Regions from separate parts of the Homo sapiens genome. Here region 2 is linked to region 1. Evidence: promoter capture Hi-C in 16 types of primary human blood cells and fetal thymus (Javierre and others, 2016). All regions are on one chromosome and are shown on one strand. The core of a region is centred on a gene start or on the middle of the fragment in contact, and the rest is flanking DNA. Distances in the headings are between cores, read along the strand shown.

Evidence for each region. The method cuts DNA at HindIII sites, captures the fragments that hold promoters and counts their contacts. A CHiCAGO score of 5 or more calls a contact.
Region 2: a fragment that was not itself captured here is called in contact with the fragment with the promoter of DENND5B-AS1 in region 1 in 1 of 17 cell types (total B cells); the score reaches 5.8 in total B cells.

What each region holds. Positions count from the first base shown.
Region 1 is chr12:31,588,243-31,591,319 of GRCh38, forward strand. It overlaps DENND5B-AS1 (DENND5B antisense RNA 1), which reads left to right and starts at 1,681. Exons shown (of 3, transcript NR_046909.1): 1 at 1,681-1,877. It overlaps DENND5B (DENN domain containing 5B), which reads right to left and starts at 2,894. Exons shown (of 21, transcript NM_144973.4): 1 at 2,464-2,894. The coding sequence starts at 2,590. RefSeq lists an enhancer at 1,415-1,494 and silencers at 1,925-2,264, 2,415-2,684, 2,755-3,044. The HindIII fragment of the contact is 7,998 bases long and covers 1-3,077 here.
Region 2 is chr12:31,983,359-31,986,175 of GRCh38, forward strand. RESF1 (retroelement silencing factor 1) reads left to right here. Exons shown (of 6, transcript NM_018169.4): 4 at 1-2,599. Among named protein-coding and RNA genes, the nearest start is that of RESF1, 25 kb to the left of the region's middle. The HindIII fragment of the contact is 152 bases long and covers 1,393-1,544 here.

The DNA.
Region 1 (3,077 bases), core at 431-2,930:
GTTCAAATGTCACCCTCCCTGTGAGGCCTTCCCTAACCATCTTATTTAAAATCACAACCCCACCATCCCACCACTCTGCTGGCATGTCCCTAAATCCACTCCCCTGCTTTATTTTTCCTCATAGCACTTATTAACATCTGGAGAACTATATACAGTCGGCACTTCACGTGGACTCCGCATCCACAGATTCAACCAAGCACAGATTGAAAATGTAGTTAGGCCTACAATGGTTGCATCTGTACTGAACATGTACAGACTTCTTTTCTTGTCATTATTCCCTAAACAATACAGTATAACAACTATTTACATAACATTACAACGTAACAGGTATTGTAAGTAATCTAGAGATGACAAAGTGTACAGGAAAATGTTCATAGGTTATATACAAATGCTACAACATTTTATTATAAGAGACTTCAGCATCCGAGGATTTTGGTGTGGGGGACACTCTAGAATCCATCCCCCATGGTTACGGAGAGATGATTGTATTTTCATTATCTCTTTACACTAGAACGTATGCTCCATGATGGCAGGGATTTCTGACTGCTTTCTTCACAGCTGTCCCCAGTGCCTAAAAAACCGACTACAGATAGATGCTTTCAAAACTGTTGGATGAATGATACTGAAATATTACAAGGCAAAATACATTATTACCTGAATACATTAAATATTATGAGAAGCAGAAATCCCAATCACCCACACTCACACAGTTTTGCAAAAAGAGACATCATAGTTTGTTTCTTAAAAATGCATTAAAGTCTAATTGATGGTTTTGTTAACATCATTCTCTCTGTGCCTAAAGAGTCCTAGGTCACACCTAAAAGGTACAGTTTTAGCTTCAGTAGGCAAACGGAAAAGAAAAATACAGGCTTTTTTCCTTTCATTAGTCATCACTGACAGAAGGCCTCCAAGTGACCCTGGTGCCACAAATGTTTAGGATCTTTAGGGAAGAAAGGAGTCTAGAAAAATAACAATATTCCTTCACCAATCTCGAGAAGAATCTCTCCAAATCTCTCTGCAGACATTTTTTCTTCATATCCTTTAACAAAGCCATTCTTAACATGTACATGAAATCTTAGTTGAAGAAACAATGTGATTACATAATTACACATACGGAAAAACTTGGTATTCTATTATCTCTCCAAATTTTTTTTTAACTAAAACTAGACTTACAGTTTTTGTTGAAAATGTTTTGTGTTTCTACCTCCGAAGAATATGAAAAAAAGAAAATGTTTTGCTCTGAAGCTGAGTTAAGAAGAAGATAGCCAAGACGTGGGTTGATGGGGACTGTATTTTAAGGCTGAACAGTTTTGTTTACTATTGTTTATTATTTAATATATTCTTCCCAGTCTCCCCACCCCCACCAAAGGAAAAGCGAAAAATTTACGTTAGTGCAATCAATAAGGAATTATTTGTCCAAAGGAAGTTGTTCTGAAAGGCTATGACCTAAGTCTTTAACACAAAGTTCAGGCGGTAGATGTCACTTCTCTCACCCATTTAACAACAACAACAAATCAAGATTCAGATCCCGCGGAGGCAAGCAGAAAGGAACAGGCGTGAAAAATGAAATCAGTTGTTTCTCCCCGGCCTCCTCTCGACACTGCGCACTCCGCTGCCCTGCCCCCGCCCATCGCCCTTTAGCGGCCCCTTTTAACGGCGTCGTTTGCCCAGCACAGCCCCGCACTGCGCCATCAAATGAGTCAAGCGGAAGGACCGGTACCCCTCCGGGAAAACCAGGCACTAACACACGGTGCACCCAACTGAATTTAAACTCGGGAACAGTGTAGGCAGTGTCAACAAAGCGCGGTGCTGGGTCCCGAGCGTCCAAAGGTCCCTGCCAGCTCCCAGACGCGGCCAAATCCACAGGATTCCAAAAGGTGACTTGGCCGGCACCGCAGAGCGGCAGGCGGCGCAGAGGGCAGAGTCCGACCGGTCCCCGCCCCGCGCTCGCTCCGCACGGCCACCGGCTCCTCCGCGGACGCTACCCCGGCGGGAGCCGAGCTGAGTCCGACTCCCCGTCTCCCGAAGAGGCCCGAAAGCCGCGTCACGTGCGGGGCCGAAACTTCGCGGCCGGGGCCGGGTGGCTGGCGGGTGGGAGGCAGGCACGGCGGTCGGGGGGCAGCCCGCGCGCCCGGTGACTCACCGGCCGCCTCCGAGTGCGGCTGCAAGCGAAGGGGCCGGCGCGCCAGGCGGGGTCCGTGCCCTTGGGGCCACCCCCGCGCCTGTTATTAATAACCCAGCGCCTGGAGGCGAAAGCCCCGGTGGGCGCAGCCGCAAAGCCCGCACGCGGAATAAATAACAATGTCATTAAATCGCGCCCGAGCGCCAGTTCGGCCAGAAAGCGGCGGGAGGGCGCCACCGGGAGCTGACTTTGTCTGGAGCCTGCACCCCGCCTCCCGCGCGTCCCCACAGCGTCCCCCGCGCCCCTGAGGGGGCTCAGCGCCGCCGCAGCCCTGGCCTTACCCGCCAGCTCGTCAGGCTCCAGCCCGCTGTCCGCGTCGATCCCGCACAGCACGAAGTAGTGCGCGAAGCGGCAGGCGGCCGGGGAGGAGCCCGAGCCCGGGCCGGGCGCCGCGCAGCTCCCGCTCATCCCGGCCGCGCTGCTCCAGGGGCCGCCGCCGCCGCCGCCCGGGAAGGCTTTCTGCGGAGGCTGCCACCACCGCTCCGGCTGTGGTCTGTGCGCCCGCCCTAGGGCGACACTGGCGCGCCCATGGCCGCGCAGCCGCCTCTCGCCGCCGCAGCCTGCCTCCTCGCTCGGCGCGGGGGAAGCGGCCGCGGGCTCGCGCGCGGCGGGTCCGGAGCCCGGCCGGGTGGGGGAGGGGCGCGGGGGGAGTGTCGGCCTGAGAGGCCCTCGCAGCCGCAGCTGCGCTCGCGAGCTGAGAGCCGCCGCGTCTGGCGCCCGCGGGTCAGCTGAGCGGCGCTCGGGCTGTGGGAGCGCGGGGCGGGCGGGGGCGCCGGGGCTCGGCGCGTGCGACGGAGAGGGGTGGGGGGCGCGCTCGCGAGGGACGGAGGCGCGCGCTTCTACCGTGCGCGCGCGCCTAGCGGGTTCGGAGGCCAAGCCTGGCGTGGGGCCGCAT
Region 2 (2,817 bases), core at 219-2,718, 390 kb after region 1:
AATCAATTGGCAGAAAATGCAAAGGCAACTGCTGCTTTGAAAGTTGATGTTAGTGGACCAGTAGCAAGTACAGCAACATCAACCAAGATTTTTCCACTAACTCAGAAGGAAAAGCAGAATGAGTCAACTAATGGTAATTCAGAAGTCACACCTAATGTCAATCAAGGAAAGCATAACAAATTAGAGTCAGCTATCCATTCTCCTATGAACGATCAGCAAATCTCACAGGAGTCAAGGAATAGTACTGTTGTGAGTAGTGATACATTACAGATTGACAATATTTGTTCTCTGGTTGAAGGTGATACCTCTTACAATTCCCAAATAGCAAAGATATTCAGCTCTCTTCCCTTGAAAATGGTTGAGCCACAGAAACCTTCTCTACCCAATCAGCAAGGGATTGGCAGCAGAGAACCAGAAAAACAATTAGATAATACCACTGAAAATAAAGACTTTGGTTTTCAAAAAGATAAACCTGTACAGTGCACAGATGTTTCACATAAAATATGTGATCAGTCAAAGTCAGAGCCACCCTTAGAGTCATCTTTTAACAATCTTGAAACAAACAGAGTTATTCTAGAGAAAAGTAGTTTGGAGCATGCCACTGAAAAAAGCACAGCTAACGATACGTGCTCGTCAGCTGCTATTCAGGAGGATATTTACCCTCAGGAAATAGATGCATCCAGCAACTATACTCCCCAAGATCCTGCAAGAAATGAAATCCACAGTGATAAGGCACCTGTCTTATACCTACATGACCAGCTGTCAGAACTTCTAAAAGAGTTTCCTTATGGCATTGAGGCTGTGAATACACGTGAAGGTTCTGTGGGCCAGCAAACTACATACCAGACCTCAGAAGATCAAACTGCTGATAAAACCAGTTCTGACTCCAAAGACCCAGCAGATCAAATACAAATTACAATATTAAGCTCAGAGCAAATGAAAGAAATATTTCCTGAACAGGATGATCAACCCTATGTAGTAGACAAGTTGGCAGAACCTCAGAAAGAAGAGCCCATCACAGAAGTAGTTAGCCAGTGTGACCTGCAGGCACCTGCAGCTGGACAAAGTCGTGATTCTGTGATACTGGACTCTGAGAAAGATGATATCCACTGCTGTGCATTGGGCTGGCTCTCCATGGTTTACGAAGGAGTACCCCAGTGTCAGTGTAATTCCATCAAGAACTCATCTTCAGAGGAAGAGAAACAAAAAGAGCAGTGTTCTCCTTTGGATACCAACAGTTGTAAACAAGGAGAGAGAACTTCTGATAGAGATGTCACTGTTGTTCAATTTAAGAGCCTTGTAAATAATCCAAAGACTCCTCCAGATGGGAAAAGTCATTTTCCTGAACTACAAGACGACAGTAGAAAAGATACACCCAAAACAAAACATAAAAGCTTACCAAGGACAGAACAAGAATTAGTTGCTGGTCAGTTTTCATCTAAATGTGATAAACTAAATCCCTTGCAAAATCACAAAAGAAAAAAATTGAGGTTTCACGAGGTAACCTTTCACTCCAGTAATAAAATGACAGCATCTTATGAACAAGCTTCTCAGGAAACCCGACAGAAGAAACATGTAACACAGAACTCACGTCCACTAAAAACAAAAACAGCTTTTTTGCCAAATAAAGATGTGTATAAGAAGCATAGTTCTTTGGGACAGTCATTATCACCAGAAAAGATAAAATTGAAACTCAAATCAGTTAGCTTCAAACAAAAACGAAAGTTAGACCAAGGGAACGTATTAGATATGGAAGTAAAGAAAAAGAAACATGATAAACAAGAACAGAAAGGAAGTGTGGGAGCTACATTCAAATTAGGTGACTCTTTGTCAAACCCAAACGAAAGAGCCATTGTTAAAGAAAAGATGGTATCAAATACTAAGTCTGTAGACACGAAAGCGAGTTCATCTAAATTTAGTAGAATTCTAACTCCTAAGGAGTATTTACAAAGGCAGAAGCATAAAGAAGCTCTGAGTAATAAAGCATCGAAGAAAATCTGTGTGAAAAACGTGCCATGTGATTCTGAACATATGAGACCAAGTAAACTTGCCGTGCAGGTTGAAAGTTGTGGGAAATCAAATGAGAAACACAGCAGCGGCGTGCAGACCTCTAAAGAATCATTAAATGGCTTGACAAGCCATGGTAAAAACCTCAAAATCCACCATTCTCAGGAGTCTAAAACATACAACATTCTAAGGAATGTTAAAGAAAAAGTTGGTGGGAAGCAGCCTGATAAAATATGGATTGATAAGACTAAATTAGACAAATTAACCAATATAAGCAACGAAGCTCAATTCAGCCAAATGCCTCCCCAAGTAAAGGATCAAAAGAAATTATATCTGAATAGAGTTGGGTTTAAATGCACTGAACGTGAAAGCATTTCTCTCACCAAATTAGAAAGTTCACCCAGGAAGCTTCATAAAGATAAGAGACAGGAAAATAAACATAAGACCTTTTTACCGGTGAAAGGTAACACAGAAAAATCAAACATGCTGGAGTTTAAATTATGTCCAGATATCTTACTAAAGAATACAAACTCTGTGGAAGAACGGAAGGATGTAAAGCCTCATCCTAGGAAGGAGCAAGCCCCTCTGCAAGGTCCAGTATGATTTTCTTGGTGGTGTCTACAATATTGTAAAGAGTCGTAGGTCAATATTTGGGCTAGCACCTCTCATGCTGTCTTGGGCTGCTGGGAAAGACTTTAATGTGTTATGCCACTACCTAGTATTTGTTTTGCCTGGTAAACCAATGTTTCATTGGGCAATATTTGTTTTGTGTTCATTGCCACCTTATTGTAAATTGTAGAAAATTGGTCG